2 separate regions of the Homo sapiens genome follow, and region 1 is linked to region 2. The links are contacts of gene promoters, found by promoter capture Hi-C in human tissues and cell types (Jung and others, 2019). All regions are on one chromosome and are shown on one strand. The core of a region is centred on a gene start or on the middle of the fragment in contact, and the rest is flanking DNA. Distances in the headings are between cores, read along the strand shown. Region 1 holds the start of PRLH (prolactin releasing hormone). Region 2 holds the start of LRRFIP1 (LRR binding FLII interacting protein 1).

The links. Contacts are between HindIII fragments. The study calls those that stand out against the background at their distance.
Region 1: a contact is called between the fragment with the promoter of PRLH here and the fragment with the promoter of LRRFIP1 in region 2, in 2 of the 25 tissues and cell types used here (IMR-90 fibroblasts and ovary).

What each region holds. Positions count from the first base shown.
Region 1 is chr2:237,563,155-237,569,360 of GRCh38, forward strand. It overlaps PRLH (prolactin releasing hormone), which reads left to right and starts at 3,420. Exons shown (of 2, transcript NM_015893.1): 1 at 3,420-3,519; 2 at 3,858-4,021. The coding sequence starts at 3,420. The coding sequence ends at 4,021. It also overlaps the pseudogene RNU6-1140P. RefSeq lists an enhancer at 269-769. The HindIII fragment of the contact is 10,563 bases long and covers 1-6,206 here.
Region 2 is chr2:237,623,248-237,630,031 of GRCh38, forward strand. LRRFIP1 (LRR binding FLII interacting protein 1) reads left to right here and starts at 4,340. Exons shown (of 24, transcript NM_001137550.2): 1 at 4,340-4,493. The coding sequence starts at 4,398. The HindIII fragment of the contact is 12,440 bases long and covers 1-6,784 here.

The DNA of each region.
Region 1 (6,206 bases), core at 2,170-4,669, 61 kb before region 2:
AAGTTATAGAGTGCTTGCTTCTGCAGCACATATACTAAAATTGGACCGATACAGAGAAGATTAGCATGGCCCCTGCGCGGAAGTTACAGAATGAGGAAGACATGGTGTGCACACGACAAATGCAGGTAGGACAGTCAGGCAGGTGAATGAACGAGGACCGAGAAGATCGCAAAGATACAAAGCCGCAGTGCTGGGCTTTGGTGACTGTCCCTGCTCACCTTTCCCTTGAATGTGAATGCGGTGATTTAAAGGCAGGGAGAGAGGACTGGAAGGAGTCCGGGAGCCCCATCTGTGAGGCCCAGCGGACACTTGACACTGCAGTCTGCCCGAAGGCGAGCACGAAGAAGAGAAGCTAATGTGTTTTAAAACCACTTGGTCCAAATGAAATTATATAACCCAGGAAGGAACAAATCGCATCGCTGATGAGTTTTGTTTTGTGTTTTTTTTTTTCAATAAAGGAACGAGAAGAGACACAGGCTCGCTCCTGATGCCGCCCTGTGAGGGAGACAGGCTGGCTTGGGGGAGGGCACCTGGGGGTGCCGGCTTCGTCCTCTCGGGGGCTATAAAAGGGGAACAGAGGCTCCCGCCTCCTCGGCTCCACTGCACCCGTAGCCAGGACAGCTCCTCTACCACACTCGAGAACGGTGAGTTGCACATCCAGGCGCTGGAGCTTGGGCCCTCTGCTTTGCTACTTTGTAAAATCTTCCCTTGCTGTCTGAGTGTGGGTCGGGTTGAGACCCTGCCTGCTCTCCTGGCAGCTGAGGCTAGGCCTAAGCAGGAGAGGCAGAGACGGCTGGCCCCTGGGTTCTTGCATCCAAAGCCACCCTGCCCTCCCAGGGCACCAAGGCTCCGGCGCTGTCCATGGTGGAGACTCCAGACAAAGACGTCCCATTCAACTCCGCTGACCAGGAAATCCCACGGGGCAGCCGGCCAAAGTCTCCACCTCTCAGGGAGGCAGGTCTTTGGGGATCAGGAGCCAAGTGAGCATCGTTAGCATTCTCGGACACCCCTCAGGTGGCGTGGGTCCCGTGCCAGAGGAAATGCAAACGGCCAGCCTGCTGGGATGAATCTCTTTATCACTCTTCAAGGTGGCACCTCCATTTCCTCTAGACTGGGGAACCCCCCACCCCACCTAGCATGGGACGCCCCTCCAGGTCTCTAAAAAGGAAAGGTGTAGGCATTTTAAATTGTTCTGATGGAGAGCACTTTCTGTGGGGCTCAGGGAGGGGCTGGAAAGTCAAGGTCGGCAGGGGGATCCTTCCCAGAGCAAGATGGAGCTGTCGGGCATCTTCCCATGGCACCCAAAGTGCCACAGGTGGAGGAAGGAGGAGGGGTGCCTGCAGCAGGTGTTTCCAGGTCTCCCATGATGGATGCTGTTTAGGCATTTCAGCACCTCCACTCCAGTGGGGTGGAAGGGGCTTTCCATGCACCTGGTGTCATCCACGGCAGCCCCCTCCTCCCATCACCGATAGGAAGTGGCCCTGCCTTGTGAGAAGAGGTCCCAGATGCTACAGGCTTACCTTGGAGCCTCAGAAGACTGGATCTAGCGTCATGGCAAGGGTGAGTGGGCTTACTTAGGGCAGAGGATGCAGACTCATTCTACGACACGCAGCTGTCGGCTGACATTCCCCAGCAGGGCTGGGCTGGCAGGCTGGAACCAGGCATTAGGAGGCGCTGAGATGAATGTGGGAAGGGGCCGTGCACCGGATTCCAGCCCCTGAGCCTGGTCCAGGCTTGGCACTCCCCAGCTCCCCAACCATGTCTGAGGTTGAGCAAGGGGCTGCCTCCACCTGTGCAGCTCCCTGGGCACCTCCCCACAAACCTGCTGTCCTGGGTGTGCAACATGCACAGCCGTGCAGAGGCCTGCTGCACCTTCTGATCCCTTAACACAGGCGGACAGACGGACCCAAGGCTGTTCCATGACAGCCCCCCTTTATAACGCGTAGCTCACACCTCCTGAGGGCTTTCTGATCATGAGCATCAATGTACATGTGACCGATCCCGTTAGAGGCTGACGCGCACAGAAGCATCTCACTTAACACCTCATTGCGCAGAGGAGAGAATGGGGTCACAGGCGGGTGGGGGACCATGCAGAGAGCCAGGTTTAACTGCTGTTTCTGTGCTTATTCCCACCTCAGCACAGATCAGAGGAACACGTGGAGATCTATGTGGCTATGTGCACGCGCACATCTACACACATACATACACATCTACACACTCACACACATCTACACACATACATACACTCACACACAACTACACACACATCTACACACATACACACACATCTACACTCATACACATCTACACACACTCACACACATCTACACACGTACACACACACATCTACACACACATCTACACACATACACATCTACACACATACATACACACATCTACACACATACACTCACACACCTACACTCATACACACATACACTCACACACACATCTACACATGTACACTCACACACCTACACACATACACATCTACACACACTCACACACACATCGACACACACACATCTACACACATATCTACACACATACACACATCTACACACATACACACACACACAGCTACACACACATCTACACATACACACACATCTACACACATACTCACACAACTACACACACATCCACACACATACATACACTCACACACAACTACACACACCTACACATACACACATCTACACACACACATCTACACACATACACACAAACCTACACACATACACACATCTACACACAGACACATCTGCACACATACACACGCATCTACCCAATACACACAGACACACTACACACATACACACACATCTACACACACACACATCTGCACACATACACACATCACACACTCACACACATCTGCACACATACACACACATCTACACACATACACACAAACCTACACACATACACACATCTACACACAGACACATCTGCACACATACACACGCATCTACACAATACACACAGACACATCTACACACATACACACACATCTACACACATACACACATCTGCACACATACACACATCTACACACATACACTCACACACATCTGCACACATACACACACATCTACACACATACACACACACCTGCACACATACACACATCTACACACATACACACACATATCTGCACACATACACACACACAGGCACCCATGTGCACACACCACACCCTCTTGTACACATATACATACACAGCTGTGCACTCACATGCACACAGGCTCATGCACATACTTCTCTCTCACACACAGTGCTCACTCTACCCAAGGTCCCAGCTCCGTGCACACGCACCCTGATGCCTGTGTGACGCTGCTCCTGCCCCTTCTCCCCCAGGCCGTGTCCTCCTCATTTGGATCTCCCCTCCAGCGGGGCCTCCTCGGAGGAGCCAAGGGATGAAGGTGCTGAGGGCCTGGCTCCTGTGCCTGCTGATGCTGGGCCTGGCCCTGCGGGGAGCTGCAAGTCGTACCCATCGGCACTCCATGGAGATCCGCAGTGAGTGCCTGGACCCCTGTCAGCCTCCCTTACCCCACCCTGCCTCACCCCAGAACCTAGTGCAGCCTGGTCGCTCGAGAACCTGGCAGGAACGGGGTGCGCGGGAGGAAAGGGAAGTCAGTCTTGGTGCTTTTTTGAACTCCTGCTTCCCAAAGCCAGCCCACGCCCAGAAATGGCCTCGCCAGAACCTCTGGGTGCCTGTTCCTCGGGTGGCTCCCAGCATGGCCTGGCGACTGGGCTGAGAGGCCCTGCCTGTGCACTCTGCCCCGCTGCCTCTGGGAGCACAGCACACCCTGGGGACACGTGCCCATGGTCTGCTCCAGCTCTTTCCTTTCCAGCCCCTGACATCAATCCTGCCTGGTACGCCAGTCGCGGGATCAGGCCTGTGGGCCGCTTCGGTCGGAGGAGGGCAACCCTGGGGGACGTCCCCAAGCCTGGCCTGCGACCCCGGCTGACCTGCTTCCCCCTGGAAGGCGGTGCTATGTCGTCCCAGGATGGCTGACAGCCAGCTTGTCAAGAAACTCACTCTGGAGCCTCCCCCACCCCACCCTCTCCTCTCCTTCGGGCTCCTTTCCCTTCAATCCTAATAAAAGCTCTGGTCTTCAGTTACACATTCACGACTGTGTGGTGGTGACTCTGAAGTTGTTCCCTCCTGGGACATTAGACTAGAAAGAACCTCAGAGCCCAGCAACTTCTTTGGAAGAAAAGGCTTTGTGACTTGGCAGAGGGCACTTGGCACTGAGTTGGGGCGCTGGGTCTACCCTTGGTCACCGGCAGCCCACAGCCACCCCCACACCCAAGCTGCCCTGAGTGGCTGCCCAGGCTGTCCACTGCAGAAGGCCAGGAGGTGCCACGCGTCATACTCTGCAGGACACTGTCCCCATAGGACGGTAGCACAGCCCCCAGCCTGAGCCCTGGGCAGCCCCTCAACTTCAGTCCTTTTTATTTAGACTATTTTTCAGAGCAGCTTTAGGTTCACAGCAAAATTGAGTAGAAGGTACAGAAAGTTCCCATCCACCCCCTTCCCCCACATCCGCACAGCCTCCCCCATGATCAACACCCCCACCGAGGGTGCTTTTGTCCCAGTCGAGGAACCCACACTGACACATCCCCATCCCCAACCAGCGTATGTCAGAGCCCACTCTCCACGCTGTGCGTCCTGTGGGTTTGCACAAATGTACAACAACACGATGTGGCATCACGCAGAGTCGTTTAACTGTCCTAGAAGTCCTCTGGGCTCCCCCTACTCATCCCTGCACCCCGCAACCCCTACAACTGCTAGTCCTCTCATTGCAGTCTGTCTTGCCTCCCTCTTACTCAGGGAAGATGCATCATGGATTGTTTCTGACCCATGGCAGGGAGACTTGAACCTAGATTGCTCCCACGCCACGTGCGTCCCTTTCAAATCACACGGGGATGTCTCCACATCCTGCCTCAGGTGTAGCTTAGGTTGGCATTGGGGGCACACTTGCACCACCTGGGAGACTGAGTTCATCCCGTGAATCACTGAGCCTCAGTTTCCACAACTGCATGCCACAGAACAGCAACGCTTACCTCATTCCTCAGCTCCGTGGGCGTGGCACCTGCACGCCTGCCGGCACAGGGTGGGTGCTCTGTGAGTGCAAGCCCCTTCCCCAAGGCCCATCCTCCACCCAGCCATGTAACAGGCTTCACCAGCTCCCTCCAACCCAAAGCTTGGCCTGGACTCTTGCTGGACCCTGCCTGCAGATGCTGATCTCAGGAGCCCATCCTGACCACAGCCCTCTTGGCCATCCATGCTCAGAGGGGCCAGTGGCAAGGCCCAGACCACCTACACGGGGCTGAGTTGGGGTGACTGCACCTCCCCAGCTACAGGGGAGCCCCTCCAGCCCTGAGCCACCTCGCCAGGGTAGAGTGAGCCTGCAGGAACAGGAAGGGGGGCAAGGTCTGTTCCGAAGGCAGCAGGGGCTGGGTCAGGCCTTAAAGAGGCCACAGCCCTCAAAAAGTTAAACACGGAGTTATCAAACGACCCAACAATTCGCCCCAGGTGTAGACCCTGGAGAACTGAGGGCAGGTGCTCAGCACATCACAGCAGCGTTTACAGCAGCACCCTTCCAAGTAGCCAAAGGGTGGACATGACCTGAATGCCCATTGCCTTAGTCAGTTCGGGCTGCTCTAATAAGATAGCATAGGCACAGAGGCTCAGCCAGTAAACACTCACTCCTCACAGTTCTGGGGGCAGGAAGTCCAAGATCAAGGTGCTGGCTGATCCGACACCTTGATCCGACACCATCTTCCTGGTTGACAGACACCGTCTTCTCGTTGTATCCTCACATGGCAGAGAGCAGAAACAGGAAGCAAGCTCTCTAGCCTCTTCTTATGAGGGCACTAATTTCATCCATGAGGGTTCCACCTTCATGACCTAATCTCCTCCCAAAGACCCGATCTCCTAATACCACCATAATGGGGGGAGGATTTCAACATATAAATTTGCAGTGGCGGGGACACAAACATTTCATAACACCCATCAACAGAAGAATAGAAAAACACAGCGTGGTCTATCCATGCAATGGAATATTACTCAGCCAGGAAAAGGAATGGACCACTGATACATGCCACAACACGGATGAACCTTGGAAGCATCATGCTAAGTGAAAGAAGCCAGGCACAAGAATTCAAATGTTGTATGATTCTGTTTATATAAAAAC
Region 2 (6,784 bases), core at 3,090-5,589:
TTGAAGCCATTTATCTACTCTTTGAGTTTTAGTTAAAACTAGGTTAGGCAATCCATAAATCCTTTTAACCTGGTCCACCGAAATATATCAAAATATGCAGAAAATGATGTAATGAGAGAGCACGCCACTGCCAGCCCCTGAAATGCTTTGAGTGAGTGACCGCTTGAAATAAGCTTATAGACCAAAAATTAGTAACATTGGATTTCTAATTTTTAGTTGAAGATATATATAACAGAAATTCTATATTTGCTTCCCCTACCCCATAGATTGTCTCAGACACCCTACCCTGGAGACACCAAGTCCAGAAGGTGACTTATGCTAGTAATCCACAGATGAGGGATAAGGGGGACCAGCTGCAGAGCTTGGTGGTATCAGCAAACATGCCAAAGGAGGATCAAAATGATCAGATAGAGATGAAGGAAAAGACCAGCTGGGTATTTGATCAGATTTAGTAGAGAAAGGAGAAAGGATTTCAAAATGGTTCCAAGGTTTTTACTCCAAAAAACATGAAAAAGTTACTGGAAGTGATGGTGTCCTGGGAAGGAAGAGGCATTTATTGGGGCAGGCATCATCCACTGATTTATTTTGGAAGTGCTGTGATTGAGCTACTGAAAGATGCACCTGAAAACGTCCAGCAGGACAAAGGAGACACCATTCACCTCCTGAGCAACACATAGACCCTGACCTCAGCCAGCCCCACTTCTGGGCAGAGTGCTGGCTCCAAGTTCCATGCGTGAGAGATGGCTCTCCTCTACGGGTCCTTCAGCATTCCTGGGGGGGGGCTGCAGTTCTCCTGCCCTGCTCCAGCTGTAATCCAAAGCAGGGCTTTCCATCCTCTGGGAACTGGAAGAGCAAGGCTGGAGTGCTGGTGAAAGAGGTTTGAGGTAGGCCCACGCGGATGATGCTCTCAATGGACCCAGAGTGAGTCACGTTATGGCCCACATGATGGCTCAGATGGCTCTCTGCCTGAGAAGCTCTGAGTCCTCATGCAGACTGGACGCCCCTCCGTAGCTGCTCATCAACTTCCTTTCCCAGCCAGCCCCCAGGGCTTGCCCACTGAGCTCCTGAACCAAGGCAAACTTGCGCTGGGGACGGCGCCGCTGTGTGGTTTCCCTTGCCAAGGCTTCCCTGGCTGCCTCCACTTTCTCGTGGAGGCTTCCTGAAGGTGGCATCTGTATTTTTGTGAAGGGACTTGGTACCAGGCTTGGAGATGAACATGTTAATTCTCTGGCCCTGGACATCAGATCTGTGATATAGTTTCTCAATTTCCTGCTCTGAAGTAAGCCCTGGTGGGTAGTGTCACCATCTGGAATAGGAAAAGGGCTAGATGGGAGGGGTCAGTAGTGCTGGTGGCAGAGGCCAGTCTTCTCAGTGGAAACAGGCTCATGCACTTCCACGCAGGGAGGGCCGACGGTCAAGGGTGGAGGAAAAGCCACAATTTTTCGGTGAACCCATGGATCAGCATGATGGAGTCTTGCAGGTCTTTATCTTCCTCCAGGAGGCACCCCAAGCACGGAGAAGACCCACCAAGCTGCCTGATACCTCTGTCTAGCTCCCCTCTGCCCAGACAGGAACTGCTGTTCACCATTCATTCCAGACCTGGGCCTTTGAGGACAGGAGCTGTAAGGATGATTGATCGATTGCCTGTGTGTGAAGCCCTGGAAGGGCTCTTGCCTAGAATACTGTCCCTACCCTGACAAGGTAGAGGCCATGGTCTGGATGGCGGTGGCCCCCCCATTCATATGTCAAAACCTAACCCTCAATGCAAGGTGGGGCCTGCAGGTGACCAGGTCCTGAAGCAGAGACCTCATGAACGCGATGAGTGCCCTTACACAAAAGCCTGGAGGGAGCCCGTCTTCCACCATGAGATGACACACAGAAGGCACCATCTGTGAGGAATGGGCCTCAACCAGACACTGATTCTGCTGGAGGCTTGATGCTGGACTTCCCAGCCTCCACAGCTGTGAACAATACATTTCCGTGGTTTTATAAATGACCCTGTCTAAGGCGTTCTGTTACAGCAGCACAAAGGAACTAAGACAGTGGGCACCCGTATTTCCATTTAGAGGCGGAAACTGACTCTGAAGTGAGAACCGGTCCACTCTGAGAGCACATCGCCAGGGGAAGAGGACTGTAGCCAGGAAGTTGTTATGTCATGGGGTCATGGGAGGACCCAGCAATGTTGTTTCTGATGATTTCTGAAAGGCGGCTCTTTTCTGGAAGTGGACAGATGATGGGGGAGGGGCAGGAAGCTGAATTCACCACAGTGTCCGAGAACACTGTCTACCAGCGGGAGCTGTTCAGACACACCTCTGGCCAGTCCCCACGGCAGTGAATCTCCTGTCTCTGGACAACAATCCAACAGGGAAAGTGGGGAGGAGGGTTGGGAACTGAACTCTGTTCCACAAGTTCAACCACTGCACTCCACTAAGCAACTGGCACAGCCAGTCCCTGGTGAAGGCTTAAAGATGAGGAAGATGGGGTCAGCGCCTGCCCTCCTGGCCTCAACACATCAGGATGGAGGATTTAGGTGTTAGCAAAAAGTGGCTCAAAGTTCCAATGAAGGACAGGGAGCAAAGGGAGACTTCTTTTAGAAAGGAGACGTTGGAACTTGGATATGGCTTTAGTTAAGGAGCTCCAGGCATCTCAAGTCAGCCCTGAGAGGCAGCAGCCGTGTCTGCCTCTCGGACAGCTATGCCCCAGCCTCCAGCTCAGCAGCTGGCAGGCAGCAGGTGTGGGTGCAGGAATGAGTGAACTCATGGGGACCAGCCTCGGCAAAGACGCACAGTCCCCACAGTGCCCCAGGGGCTGGGAAACAGTGAGCAGCCACCAGCAAGACCAAGGCAGTGCAAGTGGCCACGGCTCAAGGTTTCCCCCAAGGAGGACTATGTCACTTAAGGAGTATGGCCTCTGAAGTAATGTAAATATGGCCTGGAAGATTCAGTCAACACCTATTTCCTTAGTGCCTACAATGTGCAGGTGCAGTTTCTGCTCCCGGAGTTCAGTCATGAACAATGCCACAGTCAGCCCTGCCAACCCACCTGCGTCAGCTCAGGCACCCAGAGCAATGTCACCTGGATCTGCCCTCCCTCCCATGTCACTGGACTCGCTGTCTTTTCCCTGCAATGAAACCTCCAACAGCTTTCCCTGCCACTGTGGGTGGAAGGGCCCTCTTCCTCTTCCCACCTTCATACAGCTTCCAGGCCACCTCCTTAAGAATCCAAAGCAATCTGGTCACACCACTTGGTGGGAAATACACCGAAATGTTAACTGTCCTTATCACTGGGGGAAAAAAATCACAGGTGACTTCAGTACAGCCTCCTCTCCTCTACCATCACTACCCTCCCTCCCATCCTTCCCCAGGTCCAGCCACACTGAAGTTCTCCCCATACCCCAAACACACCAGTAACTTTCCCACCCGGTGCTCCTGCCGTGCCCTAGGCAGGGGCTTTTAACCCCTACCTAATCCTCCGATTTGCTTTACTTTTAAATCCACCTCTGGAGCATAGACTGTGAGCTTCAGAGAGCACAGGTAAGTTCATTACTTTTTCAACAACTAGGAGAGAGCTGCGACGCACCTGCCCCGATCCTAGAGGCTGGGGACCCACCAGAGAAGTGACAAGTCCTTGATCTCAGGGGGCAGACAGCGGGGAGAAGGATGGATGCTAGCACGGAGAACACGCGTGTAAAGACAGAAACGCACACATCCACACCATGCCGCTGTGAAGCCGGCGCCCAGGAGGCTGGCCAAGGTCACAGGAGCGGCGGTGGCGGGCGGATCCGAGCACCTCTCGGCCTGACCCCAGAGCCTAGCTCTCACCCCGGCGAGGGACTTCCACCCCGACTCACCGCGGAATGGGGAGCGCCAGGCTGAACCAAATCCTGTGCTCACCCCTCCGTGCAAACCCCTCAAGGCAACTCAGGCCTCTGAAAGCCTTCCTACCCCCCCGCTCTCCGCTCAGGTCCCCACTCAACCGGTGCCCACCGCCCTGGCGCGCGTCGCTCCGCGATTACCGGCCCGCCAAACAGTCCCCGCAAAGTCCACCCTCCGGGGCTCCCGGTCCCTCAGGTCCCGCGTGCCCGGCCCTGGGCATCCGCAGCGTCCCCGTGGTATCGGACCCCCATCGTCCCTGACACCTGGCGTCTCCGCCCCCCGCCCCCGTCCCCCGCCCCGCCGTCCCTGGCCCCTGCAGTCCCTGGCCCGCGCTGCGGACCTCCGGCTCTGGCTTCCCCCGGGTCCCCGCGGCCCCCGTCCCCCCGCGTCCCCGCGTCCCCGGCCCAGCGCCCGCTGACGCCATGACGCCGCGGCGGAGGGAGGGGCCGGGGCCGGGGCCGGGCCGGGGCGGCGCGAGCGGCTGGAGCAACGGGCCCCGCGGCAGCTGCGGGCGACGCGGTCGATGGACATGGGCACCCAGGGATCGGGGCGCAAGCGGCTCCCCAACCGGGAGCGGCTCACGGCGGAGGACGACGCGCTCAACCAGATCGCGCGGGAGGTGAGCGCTCCGGGAGGGCAGCCGGGGGGCGCCGGGCGGGCGCGGGGGCCGGACGGCTGTCAGGGTCTCTCCGGCGTCCGTCTGTCCCGCTGTGCGTCTGTGCCACTGCGCGTCCGGCTCCAGGCGGGTGGGCCGGGCAGGCGCGCGCCGGGGCGCTGATCCCCAGGCGCTGCGCCCCGGCCCCGATCTCCGAGGCCTGCGGACCCCGCACCCGTTCTCCAGCCCCGGGCCCAGCCCGCGACGCTGCGCGCCCTCCCCCACCCCGGCCACCGTCGGCCGCTGCGCCCTCGGGAGAGGAGCCGGGCGCCGCCAGCGCGCGAGGTGGCCCGGGCTGGCCGGGTGGGGGCGAGCGCCCCGCTTTGTTGTGCGGCATGGGAGGAGGCGGGGGCTTAGGCCCGACCTGGAGGCAGTGGACGGTCGCCGGAGGCCACATGGCCCTGCTGAAATGGCCGAGTCGCTCAGGTGACCATTTGTCATCCATCCATCGATGTCACTCAAGGTGCAGCTCAGAGATGAACTTGGGGATCACTGTGATTTTTCTTTCAGGACTGAGCCTGGAAACGGGTCCAGGCACACTGAAACGTCTTCATTAAAGTTTCCTGGACAGAGTTTATTGTAACTAAGATCATGTTTGGTGATGAACTTTACCTGTGACAAATTGAAGGCGCACTAGAATGGGTATTTGTACAAATGCCTTTTTTTTTTTCCTTCCGCAAGGATTCTACCTTAAGGCTAAAGAATGTACATGACATCCAGAAAGCCGTACAGGGACAGAGAGCAGCAGCTTGGGAAAAGGGGAGCCAATAGGTTGCGGCCCCAGGGGGACAAAGGAAGCTTAATTTTTGACTGTGTTCCCTTTGTACCATTTGAACTGTGTGCCAGGTGGGTGTATGAATGCAAAGAAAGTCTCTGCCTTGTAACCCGCCTTACAGGTTCTTTTCCGTGTTGGCTTTTCCACATGTGATTCTTCCCACAGGAAACACCTCCAAGCCATTTGGACTGTGGTGTCTGGCTGTATCCGTCAGATATTCTGGGGGATCTACTCTGTAACCAATCCTTAGGTGTTTGTAGTTGTAAATACCTGATTTTGCTCTTACGGACATGTGGCAGTCACTCAGTATTTGTTGACTACTGAGTGAATAAAGACTTCTGTTTTTCTCTGTATGATACAGAAAAGGGCTTTCCAGGCAAACCCTTATTCATTCCTGGAAGCCCACTGTGACCTCCAGGAGACCTTCCAGACTCAGCCCTCTCACATCGCACCAGGCCTAAGTCTCCCTGGCTCCACGGCCCTCCATGGCATGCCCGCGCCTGGCATGGCAGTCAGGATACCTTATCATTATTTGTCCACCTGTAGAAGGTGACACCCAGACAGGAAATATCTTACTTTTGTATCCCAAGAGCTCAGCACAGAGCCAGGCACATACTAGGTGTTTGTCTATGTCTGTTACATTAATTAATAAACAAAAGAAGTACAAGGCATTTAAAGGACCTTTGGCTAAATATAGACATTTGCTAAATATAGTAGCTTGAGTATAACTCCCTCCTGTGAAGACAGTCACTTATGTATGCATTTGACCACAGTGCCTTACAAGTGTTCCCTGCAAGGGCCAGAGGTGGCCAGTGAATCGCAAGCCTTGTCTTGATGTCAGTGGTTATGGGGCAGAAGAATGAGAAGAATGAAAATTTCCAGAGTTTGCCTTTTATCCACTGGTGTTTCTTTCTTCTTTTTTTTTTTTTTTTTTTTTTTTAACACAGTCTCACTCTGTTGCCCAGGCTGGAGTACAGTGGTATGATCTCGGCTCACTGCAACCTCCACCTCCCAGGCTCAAGAGATCCTCCTGCCTCAGCCTCACCAGTAGCTGGGATTACAGGCACGCACCACCACACCCGGCTAATTTTTGTATTTTTAATAGAGACGGGGTTTCACCGTGTTGGCCAGGCTGGTCTCAAACTCCTGGCCTCAAGTGATCTTCCCGCCTTGGCCTCTCAAAGTGCTGGGATTACAGGCGTAAGCCACTGCGCCCAGCCTATCTGCTGGTTTTTATAAAATAGATTGAAAAGGAAGGCAAGGGAACACTCCTTGGGTTGAGAGCCCTGAGGTCCTCCCTCCCACCGAGGGAGATGCAGTTGGAGTTACAGAGATAGACTTGTGAGTCAGAGCTGGGCTTTCAAATGACATAGTTCTTAGCCAGCTGTGCCATCCTAGGAAGGTGAGTTACTCACTCTTCTCTGGGCCTCTGTTTTCTCGTCTCTAAAATGGAGAAGAAGAAACCTCCCCTGGCTGTCAG